Linked DNA regions of Homo sapiens: all the other regions are linked to region 3. Evidence: promoter capture Hi-C in 16 types of primary human blood cells and fetal thymus (Javierre and others, 2016). All regions are on one chromosome and are shown on one strand. The core of a region is centred on a gene start or on the middle of the fragment in contact, and the rest is flanking DNA. Distances in the headings are between cores, read along the strand shown. Region 1 overlaps COPB1 (coat protein complex I subunit beta 1). Region 2 has its middle 43 kb from the start of PDE3B. Region 3 holds the start of CYP2R1 (cytochrome P450 family 2 subfamily R member 1). Region 4 has its middle 44 kb from the start of COPB1.

Region 1 (2,731 bases), core at 13-2,512, 420 kb before region 3:
TCTGAGATAAAAAAATGTTGGAGACTTTTAAAAAACATACTTTAAAGATTATACTGTGACCAGACCTGAATAAATAAATGCCCACAAAAGAGTTACAAAATAAATTATTGCTCAAAAATCAAATCAATTAAGGGATAATATACCTTGTAAATTATCTGGCTCTCATTTATGGCTTTTCTTATAATGGAATTAAAACAAAAACAAAAAGAACCTGGCCAGGCACGGTGGCTCATGCCTGTAATCCCAGCACTTTGGGAGGCCGAGGTGGGCGGATCACCTGAGGTCAGCAGTTCGAGACCAGCCTGGTCAACATGGTGAAACCCCAGTCTCTACTAAAAATACAAAAAAAATTAGACAGGCGTGGTGGCAGGCGCCTGTAGCCCCAGCTACTCGGGAGGCTGAGCCAGGAGAATTGCTTAAACCCAGGAGGCGGAGGTTGCAGTGAGCTGAGATCATGCCATGGCACTCCGGCCTGGGCAAGAAGAGTGAGACTCCGTCTAAAAAAAAATTTTTTTTTAGATCAAGCTGTTAGTCTCCAAAAACGAAGGAAATATGAGTGATGTGAGTGAAAGTGTTTCAATTTAGAAACCTGCTGTATAGATAACCAACATAATACGAAAGCTGAAGGAATCAAAAGGAGTCCCATTGCTACAGGCCCAATTTGAATGTCAGAAATTGCTGTGGTAGGACATTGTAACCAACTCTGCGCTACTACCACAAATGTTCTATGGATTCTGTTTCTTAAATAATAAGAGTTGAAACTACTTGATCAGTGGCAGCATAATGGATGTTGTCTTAGCAGGCATGAAAACATTCATTTCTTTCTACATCTCCATCAGAGCTCTTGGGTGACCAGCTAAATTGTCAATGAACAGTAATATTTTAAAAGGAGTCTTTTATTTCTGAGCAGTAGGTCTCAATGGTGAGCTTAAAATACTTAGTAAGCCATCCCGTAAAGAGGATGTGCTGACATCCAGGCTTTGTTGTTCCACTGACAGAGCACAGACAGAGTTGATTAAGCACAATTCTTAAGAGCCCTAGGATTTTCAAAATGGGAAATGAGCAATGGCTTCAACTTAAGTTACTGGTTGTATTAGCCCTTACCAAAAGAGTCAGCCTATCCTTTGAAGCTTTGAAGCCAGGCACCGACTTCTCTCTAGCTACCAAAGTCCTAGATGGCATCTTCTTCCAATATAAGGTTGTTTAGTCTACACTGAAAATCTGTTGTTTAGTGTGGTCACCTTCACCAATGATCTTGGCTAGATCTTCCAGATAACTTGCCACAGCTTCTCCATTAGGACTTGCTACTTCATGTCAAACTTTTACATTATGAAGACGGGCTTATTTCCTTAAACCTCATGAATCAACCTCTGCTAGCTTCAAACTCTTCTTCTGAAGCTTCCTAACCTCTCTCAGCCTTCATGGAATTGAAGAGAGTTAAGGTCTTAGTCTGGATTAGGCTTTTGGCTTAAGGGAATCTTGTGGCTGGTTTTATCTTCTATCCAGACCACTCAAACTTTCTATCAGCAATAAAGCTATTTCGCTTTCTTTCTTCTTCTTTTTTTTCCTCGAGACGGAGTCTTGTTCTGTCTCCCAGGCTGGAGTGCAGTGGTGTGATGTCAGCTCACTGCAACCTCTGCCTCCCATGTTCAAACAATTCTCCTGCCTCAGCCTCCCAAGTAGCTGGGAGTACAGGCGCCTGCCACCACACCTGGCTAATTTTTGTATTTTTAGTAGAGACAGGGTTTCACCATGTTGGCCAGGCTGGTCTCGAACTCCTGACCTCGTGATCCGCCTGTCTCGGGCCTCCCAAAGTGCTGGTGTGAGTCACCACGCCTGCCAAATGTTTCACTTTCTTATCATTCATGTGTTTACTGGAGTAGCACTTTTAATTTCCTTTAAGAGCATTTCCTTTGCATGCATAACTTGGCTACCTACTTGGCAAAAGCAGCCTAGCTTTTGGCTTAGCTCAGCTTTTGACATGCATTCCTTACTAAGTTTAATTATTTCTCACTTTTGATTTAAAGTGAAAGACATGTGACTCTTCCCTTCACTTAGAAGCCACTGTAGGATTATTAACCGGCCTAATTTCAATATTGTGGTATCTCAGGGAATAGAATAGGGAGGCCCAAGGAGGAAAGAGACGGGGTAACAGCCGGAACACACACAACAATTATTGATTACGTTTACTATTTTATATGGGAATGGTTCCTGGCATCCCAAAACAACTATGATAGTAACATTAAAGATCACTGATAACAGATCACCATAACAGATGTAATAATAATGAAAAAGTTTGAAATATTGTGAGAATTACCAAAATGTAACACAGAGATATGAAGTGAGCATATGCTTATTTGGAAAAATGATGCTAACAGACTTGCTCAACTCAGGGTTCCCACAAACCTTCATTTGTTTAAAAAAAAAAAAAAAAGCAATATGTGCAAAGTACAATAAAATGAAGTATGCCTGTAAATGCTATGTAAATAATTGTTACACTGCATTGTTTTCAACTTTCTATTATTTTTTACTGTTTATCATTTTTTAAAAAAGATATTTTCAATCCATAGTTGGTTGAATCTGCAGGTGCAGAAGCTGTGAATATGGAGGACCAACTGCATACCATTGTAAATGGGTGTTTGGTTAGAACGGTCAGAAGCTACAAAGCAGGCATGAACTACAGATGAGAATAACTTAAGAGACATTCTGGGATAAAACAGACAATGACCGA
Region 2 (2,700 bases), core at 162-2,661, 290 kb before region 3:
CTGTGTTCCTTTGGAGGAGAAAAGGCACTGTGAGTTTTAGAATTTTCAGCTTTTCTGCTCTGGTTTCTCCCCATCTTTGTGGTTTTATCTACCTTTGGTCTTTGATGTTGGTGACCTACAGATGGGGTTTTGGTGTAGATGACCTTTTTGTTGATGTTGATACTATTCCTTTCTGTTTGTTAGTTTTCCTCCTAACAGTCAAGTCCCTCAGCTGCAGGTCTGTTGGAGTTTGCTGGAGTTCCACTCCAGACCCTATTTGCCTGGGTGTCACCAGCAGAGGCTGCAGAACAGCATACATTGCTGTCTGGTCCTTCCTCTGGAAGCTTCGTCCCAGAGAGGCAGCCACCTATATGAGGTGTCTGTTGGCCACTACTGGGAGGTGTCTCCCAGTTAGGTTACACGGAGGTTAGGGATCCACTTGAGGAGGCAGTCTGTCCGTTCTCAGAGCTCAAACGCTATGCTGGGAGAACCACTGCTCTCTTCAGAGCTATGAGACAGGGACGTTTAAGTCTGCAGAAGTTGTCCGTTGCCTTATGTTCAGCTATGCCCTGCCCACAGAGGTGAAGTCTAGAGGCAGTAGGCCTTGTTAAGCTGTTGTGGGCTCCGCTCAGTTCGAGTTTCCCACCGCTTTTTTACCTACTCAAGCCTCAGCAATGGTGGATGCCCCTCCCCGAGCCAGGCTGCTGTCTCGCAGATCAATCTCAGACTGCTGAGCTAGCAGTGAGCAAGGCTCTGTGGGTGTGGGAGCCGCCGAGCCAGGCACGGAAGAGAATCACCTTGTCTGCTGGTTGCTAAGACCTTGGGAACAGCACTGTATTTGAGCGGGAGTGTCCCATTTTCCCAGGTAGTCTGTCATGGCTTCCCTTGGCTAGGAAAGGGAAATCCCCTGACCCCTTGTGCTTCCCAGGTGAGGTTATGCCCCACCCTGTTTCTGCTCGCCCTCTGTGGGCTGCACCCACTGTTCAACCAGTCCCAGTGAGATGCACCAGGTACCTCAGTTGGAAATGCAGAAATCACCCATCTTCTGCGTCGATCCTGCTGGGAGCTGCAGACAGGAGCTGTTCCTATTTGGCCATCTTGGAATGCTCCAACATTTCTTTATTTCTGGCTTTCACATTGGCATTCTTTCCCACTTTTGTGTAGTTCCAATTTTTTGTTTAGTATTCTTATGTGTTTTTTTTAAAACCAAATATCTTGGAAGCACTGTTAAAGAAATTAAAGTTTAGACAGGGAAACAAATCACTCATTCCCAGTAAATAGCATTATGTCATGCATTATTCCATTTTAGAAATTCAGCTTTGACTCCCTATTTCAGGTGACTGCCAGTTGGCTATTTCAGGAGTAAGGAGCCAAACATCATTTACACAAGCAACATGCACGGGGTCTTGCAACACAAATGGGTCAGTGCTAACTCAAGGGTGCTGCCTAAACTGGGGGGAGTGGGACTTGTGTTGGAAACAAACATGAGAGGAGTAGCTGACAGATCAATGGTGTAATACTGGAGTAAAAATCCCCAAACTACTACAGACAAGGATTTTAGGGATTCTTTCCTGTTCCTAAACTAAGTTCTAGCCTCCTGGATGCCCAGCTACATAACTATCCCTGGGTCTGGGATGAAATTTGCACTTGAAACCCACCAAAGGCTGCCGTTCTTCCACCTCAAAACACAAATCTAGCTACCTGCATTATTGCCTGAAAGCCTCTAGATATGGCCTGGAGAAGATGTAAACTCTCTCCGACTCAGTCTCTTGAGCTGGTAACTCTGGGTGAATGGAGGCTTAATGTAAATAGAACAAGGGGTTCTTCGTGATCACATAATCCTGTCTACATGCTCACTTTGGGGAAAATCAGGATGTCATGGGCTTCAGAATCAGAGTTTAAAAGATTTATAGATGCCTTAAGAAGCAAAAGTGAACACCCTTACTCCCAACTCCATGAACTTGCTCAGGTAACTTGTCCGAGGCCATATATCTAGTAAGTGAAAGAATGAGATTAAAATCCAAGTTGTCTAACTCTCAATACCTATGTACATAACAATTTTGCTAAATGAGAATTCTGTCAAGGTCCATGCCAAATAACCTCATGCATGAGAAAATCTTGTGAAGGGCTTACTGTCAGAAAAAGGTAAGGATATCAATGTTTACCCGCACCCTTCACCATTCTCCACCTTTAACGTCTACCCTAAATTTAGTCAATCCTCTCATTCTTTACATAGAGCCCTCATTGGTTCCTCACTATAGATTCATGGCTTCATACTTCACACCCAGCATAGCACACATGCATAAGTGGGTCCTAGCTCCGGCTCAGTAGAACCATCTATAATGGCACATCTATTTTTTAGATCCCTCCCATTAGAGCAAGAGGATCCAGCAGGATGGAGAAACTCATGAACACTAAATTACAATTGGAGAGGGAATTTCAGTTATGTGATAGAGACCGTTTCCCAGAACTAGACACCTGGGCAAAACTGTCTTGGCCATGAAAAGGCTGAGCTATCACCAAGCTTTTTGGGAGTAGCAAGGAAAACTGTCTCATTTATCACCACCTCTTTGGGACATTTGTTTGGGAGAAAAGAGTGGACTTTGTTTTATATTATCTTCCTTGACCTGGTACATTCATTGGGTGGAGAGCTCTGGGCCAGGCTTTCCAGCTCCTTTTAGACTTCCAGAGGTATGAAAAAAAAATCATAGTAATAGAAAC
Region 3 (2,958 bases), core at 328-2,827:
CTCCTGCCTCAGCCTCCCGAATAGCTGGGACTACAGGTGCCCGCCACCACGCCCGGCTAATTTTTTGTATTCTTTTAGTAGAGATGGGGTTTCACCGTGTTAGCCACGACGGTCTCGATCTCCTGATTTCGTGATCCGCCCGCCTCGGCCTCCTAAAGTGCTGGGATTATAGGCGTGAGCCACCGCGCCCGGGCACCTAGACCAATCCTTGTAAAAATTGGTTTAAGTAAGGATTTAAGGTCAAACCTGAAATACCACAGTTGCCAAACATCCCTGTACTTTTCCTTCAAAACACTGACCACAGCCTGTGGCCGATAATGAGATTAGTTTTCTCTCTCCCACTCATCTGCCAACTCCTTAAAAGGCTGTATCTGCCTTCTTCACCGCTAGCGTCAGGCCTGTAGTTGCATATAAATAAGTGTAATTCAAAACAAAACAGGTGAGCTCTGTCCCAGGACCCGTGGAAACTCCTGCCCCCTCCGGACGTCGGGACACCCACACACAAGCGGTGGTCGCCTTTTCCGCTGCCAGTCACAGGGCATTTCCGTGCTGCTTTCCCCTCCGCAGAATGAGGAGGAGCGAAGTACCGACCTCACCGGCTGGTTATGAGTTTTAAATGAGTCACCAAGTTGGCAGTGACAGTGGCACACAGAAGGCGCCTTTTAAGTATCTGCTAAGGTGCCGTTCCCAGCCAGTCAGAACGGCATTACCATCTGCGCTGTAGGACCCCCGCAGCGGATTTTAGTCATCAATTCATTCACGCGTTCACAATCGTTTCCCAGGGCCCGCTTCTCAGTCAGGGGCGTTCCCCTGCATTCTCCATTCTCACAGCAAACGCCTACACCAGTCGTTCGTCGACTGCAGACACCGAAGAACCTGCTATTAACCATCTAGAACTCAGAACGCCTTGATTTTCCGACAAGCCGCGTGCAGCTTCCACAGAGCTGCGAGGCCGACTCGCAAGACGCCCGCACCTGAGGGCATGCGTCCACCCTGGACCTGAAGTGGCGGCGCGGCTGGCGAGCCAAACGGCGCAGGCGCAGGAGCAAGAGCTCGAGCGGTAGCGGGAAAATCAGGACTGGATCGCCTCGGAGCCTCGGCCCGGAGTGGGTCACCGGCAGGGGCGGGGCTCCCCCTGCAAGGGGGCACGGCGTCGAGGACTTCTCCCTTCCAGACCCGGGAAGCGGGTGTCCCTCAAAGGGCAGCCGGCACACGGAGAGGTCCCGACTAGTCGGCCCAGGGGCGGCCATAAGTCCAACCAGGAAGGCCCTGGCCAGCCCGGGCCAGCCTGGCGGCCCTCCCTGCCCGGGGCCCGTCGGGGCTGTACCTCTCCGTACACCTGGCTCTGCTTTCTCATGTAGACATGGGGAAGCTCGGATGAGGCTGCCAGGGAATAGATGTTGCCGATAAATGGCAGCCCCGGCGGCCCCGGGGGGAAGCCCATCGGCCGCCTCTGCTTCAGCAGCTGGCGGACCCCTAGCGCGAAGAGCAGCAGGAAGAGCGCGCCGCCGAGCGCCGCCGCGCCCTCTTCAGCTCTCCAAAGCTTCCACATCGGCCCGAGCTGGAGGTGCGAACTCCACAGCAGCCCTGAGACCCAGGCACTCCCTCCAGCCCTGCCATACTCCCATTGGCAGGATACCCTCAGGTCCCGCCCTAGCTCCGTGGCCATTGGCTGACTGAGTGAGCGCTCAGGCCCCTTCGGGACAACTACCTTCTAGTTTTGCGCGGCTGAGAGTGGACTTTGCGGAGCGGGTGGCCGGTGCTACCCTTTGGAGGTGGCGCGGCTCTAGGCGGAGCAATGAGCCAGGAGTCCGTTTTCTAGAATGTTGACACAAGGGCATTGACGAGGTGTCAGGACGGCCTCACTCACTGGGCTAGGCGGATCCTGCCTCTCTGGGGCCAGACCTTTCTTAAAGTGTCTTTTTAAGTACCAGGTCTGCTTATTTCATTTCACACTAGGAAAACTGGAGAGATGATCAACACTGCAGTCTTTAGCTGAACCTGATACTTTTCAGAATTTCCAGTAGAAAATTGACCCATCAGTAGTAAAAGAAAGTAATTTTACTGTTTTGTCCTGTTTTACTATTTTTCTCCTGTTAATGTATTTTTGTGTGTGATCTTTTAATAATTGTGATGATTGAGCAGTTTATGTGATTAACTCAGTTTACCTATATTTGACCCCTCTCTGGTCTTTCCAAACTGATTACTTATTGGCAATCACGGGACTCTTGTCTGCACTTGTTCACGGAGAGTATTTACTATTCAAGATTTCTGCCTCCACTGCCTGGAATTAAGCAACTGATTTCATATTATTCTTGCTAATTGTTTTTATTCCTGTTTTCTATTGGGCAGTTCCTTGCAATACAGGACTTACTGGGTTTGGGACTCTTCTAACAGCTGCCCTCTAATTGTGATTTAGCAGTGGCATGAGTTTTATGGTCCTCATTAGCTTACGACTCATTCACACAACAAATATTTATTGAATGTCTACTATGTTCCCATGTCCTAAGCAATGGAGATACATAGGTGAATAAGAGCAACAAAGTCCTTTCTATAACTTACATTCTTATGAGAGGGAAGAGCAATGACATGGAAATACAATAATTTTCAATAATCAGAAGCAAACAAAAAGTGCGTTATAGAAAACGCCTGGTGGTTGGGGAGATACTTTAGCAGGCAAGGGCTGTCAAGGAAAGTCTTATTAGGAAGATGACATTGGAGCTGAGATCAACTGCTAAAGAAGTGTATTTGTTTCCTACTACTGTTGTAATAAATTACCACCAATCTGATGGCTTAAAACCACACAAATTTATTTTCTTACAATTCTTGAGGTGAGAAGTCCAAAATGAGTCTTCCAGGGCTGACAGAGAGGTGTTAGTGGGGCTTCATTCTTTCTAGAGACTGTAGGAGAGATTCTATTTCCTTGTCTTTTTCAGCTTCTAGAGGCTGCCCACATTC
Region 4 (2,823 bases), core at 157-2,656, 440 kb before region 3:
ATGGCAAAACTGTCTCTACAAAAAATACAAAAATTAAATTAGCTGGGCATGGTGGCATGTGCCTGTGGTCCCAGCTACTCGGGTGATGAGGTGAGAGAGGTGGAGGTTGCAGTGAGCCAAGATCGCACCACTGCCAGACCCCGTCCCAAAAAAAAAAAAAAAGGCCGGGCACCGTGGCTCACGCCTGTAATCCCAGCACTTTGGGAGGCTGAGGTAGGCAGATCACGAGGTTGAGATTGAGACCATCCTGGCCAATATGGTGAAAACCCATCTCTACTAAAAATAGATAAAAATTAGCTGGGCATGGTGGCCCACGCCTGTAGTCCCAGCTACTCAGGAGGCTGAGGCAGGAGAATTGCTTGAACCAGGGAGGTGGAGGTTGCAGTGAGCCAATTGTGCCACTGCACTCCAGCCTGGTGACAGAGCCAGAGTCCGTCTCAAAAAAAAAAAAAAAAGTTTTTTAAAAAAGGAAAAATAATCTTGCTTTTTCTTAAATTTTTTTTTTTTTGATGGGGGATCTCTTTGTTGCTCAGGCTGGTCTTGAACTTCTGGGCTCAAGTGATACTCCCACCTTGGCCTCCGAAAGTGTTGGGATTACAGGCATAAACCACCATGCCCAGGCTCCTTTAAAAAAAAATTTTTTTTTAAAAGAGAGGGAGTCTCACCCTGTCACCCAGGATGGACTGCAGCGGCACAATCATAGCTCGCTGCAGCCTTGAACTCCTGGTCCCGAGAATTTCTCCCGATTCAGCTTCCCGGGCACATGCCACCATACCAGGCTAATTTGTAAAATTTTTTTGTAGAGACAGGGTCTATGTTGCCCAGGTTGGTTTTGAATTCCTGGCCTCAATCCACCCTCCAGCCTTGGCCTCCCAAAGTGTTGGGATTATAGGTGCGAGCCACCACACTTGACCCTTTTTCTTCTTATAAAACAACTGAGTGCCAATCTCTTCTAATTGCAAAATGAAAAAAAAAAAAAAAAAAAAAAAAAATCACTGCACAGAGCTCCCTCTAGTGTTGTGACATTACTGCAATGTAAGCCATTTAATGCTCCTGTAAGCTTTACAGGTTTATCCACATTCAATACATTAATATATTAAGCTTTCATTTGGTATTTAATGTTTATTCTCTACCGGACATCATGGTCCTAATTATATGGTATCTTATAATGTGAACAGCTACTATCTTTGAATGTATATTATATCCCAAATAACAGGGCATAGTGTAAACAGCTTCTTTCAACAATGTGCTGCTATCCAATTCAGTTCACATTTATTACATGCACAAAGCTAATGAAATGCTAATGAAGTAAACAGTTTAATGTATCTGACAATTGTGTTAACTTCTTTGTTCTCCTTATTTATGAATTTAAGAAAATGGCAATGTGAGGCAATCTGATTCCAACAAAAATGGCCTGAATATGTCAGGCAGGCAACTTTCTAAGAGTATCAACCGAGATATATTCTAGGATGTACACAGGCATAATTCCTTCAGATATGAAATGTGATACTGGTTAACTGTGATTACAACACTAATATCATTAACAGGCTAAGTCACTTTTCCTGTCCCATATATTGTCAATAGGTCATGGAAAAAGGATTCCCTGGTAAAGTAAGGTTAGGATATACTGGGTTAAACCAAACTAATCTGCTTTCCTCTCAGAATCTCTGGTATGCTAATGTACATTGTGAATCTCCAGTGCAGGACAGTTTGAAGCTTTTCCCCAACTTACTTGACTATGGAATTACTTTTTCACTCAGAATATCTAATGACATCTAAGGAAGCTAATGTTCAGTAGAACAGAGTTTGGGAAATGATGATCTAATCCAAAGTTGCACCAGCTCCTTCGCTCTCATTGCAAATCTCTACCCTTGAATCGACATCCCTTCTCTGCACTTCCAGTATATCTTTCCCATTTGATAAGCCCTGGCTTTGTTCTAAGATCTCAGTGTTCTGGAATCTCAAATGCCCTGTAATCTAGGCTTTTTTTTTCTTTTTTTTTTTTTAAAAGCAAGTGGCTTCACAGTTTATGACATCATACAAGGTATCAATCTCCTTATACTCCAAACAAATCATTTCATTCTTAATGAAATAGGAGATGCTTTCAGTCTTTCACAGACCTTATCTAAGGACTCACAGGGAATGCAGCCTGAACCCTAGCTGGTAGACAAATAATAGCCTTAAGTTTAGACTTAGCTAAAAAATCAGACTACCTCAATCACCCCCAATGAAAGTAAAGGCCAAAAGGAAAGCACAATCAGACGCTGGGAAACTTAGCTTGGAAATGCATTTGGAATTATACTGCAGTGTGATGGTACCCAGTCCTAGTGTGAAGTGAGGAAAAGGAGACGAGTGAGTAAGGCACAGAGGCAACAGAGAAAAAGGCAGCTTTTTGAATCCTCTCTAGTTGAATCCTCCCAGTACCAGCTTCAGTAATTGGTTAGAACCAGTTTTATTCCTAACAAACATAGAACACCCTAAACTAAATGTGAGTAAGGCACGGAGGCAACAGAGAAAAAGGCAGCTTTTTGAATCCTCTCTAGTTGAATCCTCCCAGTACCAGCTTCAGTAATTGGTTAGAACCAGTTTTATTCCTAACAAACATAGAACACCCCAAACTAAATGTGAATGATTAAAAAATCTATTTTGGATTATCTACTCTTCATTATGATTCAGGATAATTAAGAACAGTATATCTATTTCAGTTCGGGTACATAATACTTCTTTAAACTGCAGAGCGATCTGTTTTCTCAAGTTATTTTGGGCCGGGTGCGGTGGCTCACGCCTGTAATCCCAACACTCCGGGAGGCTGAGGCGGGCGGA

Evidence for each region. The method cuts DNA at HindIII sites, captures the fragments that hold promoters and counts their contacts. A CHiCAGO score of 5 or more calls a contact.
Region 1: a contact is called between a fragment that was not itself captured here and the fragment with the promoter of CYP2R1 in region 3, in 2 of 17 cell types (naive B cells and naive CD4 T cells). The highest score is 6.7, in naive B cells.
Region 2: a contact is called between a fragment that was not itself captured here and the fragment with the promoter of CYP2R1 in region 3, in 1 of 17 cell types (naive B cells). The highest score is 5.1, in naive B cells.
Region 4: a fragment that was not itself captured here is called in contact with the fragment with the promoter of CYP2R1 in region 3 in 13 of 17 cell types (naive CD8 T cells, total CD4 T cells, naive CD4 T cells and 10 more); the score reaches 13.5 in naive CD8 T cells.

What each region holds. Positions count from the first base shown.
Region 1 is chr11:14,471,423-14,474,153 of GRCh38, forward strand. The region is part of intron 14 of COPB1 (coat protein complex I subunit beta 1); the gene reads right to left. Among named protein-coding and RNA genes, the nearest start is that of COPB1, 27 kb to the right of the region's middle. The HindIII fragment of the contact is 268 bases long and covers 1,129-1,396 here.
Region 2 is chr11:14,599,794-14,602,493 of GRCh38, forward strand. It overlaps a transcript of PSMA1 not described here. Among named protein-coding and RNA genes, the nearest start is that of PDE3B, 43 kb to the right of the region's middle. The HindIII fragment of the contact is 2,180 bases long and covers 322-2,501 here.
Region 3 is chr11:14,890,654-14,893,611 of GRCh38, forward strand. CYP2R1 (cytochrome P450 family 2 subfamily R member 1) reads right to left here and starts at 1,578. Exons shown (of 5, transcript NM_024514.5): 1 at 1,328-1,578. The coding sequence starts at 1,552. It also overlaps a transcript of PDE3B not described here. RefSeq lists a silencer at 1,086-1,325. The HindIII fragment of the contact is 6,013 bases long and covers 1,542-2,958 here.
Region 4 is chr11:14,454,199-14,457,021 of GRCh38, forward strand. No RefSeq gene overlaps it. Among named protein-coding and RNA genes, the nearest start is that of COPB1, 44 kb to the right of the region's middle. The HindIII fragment of the contact is 615 bases long and covers 1,100-1,714 here.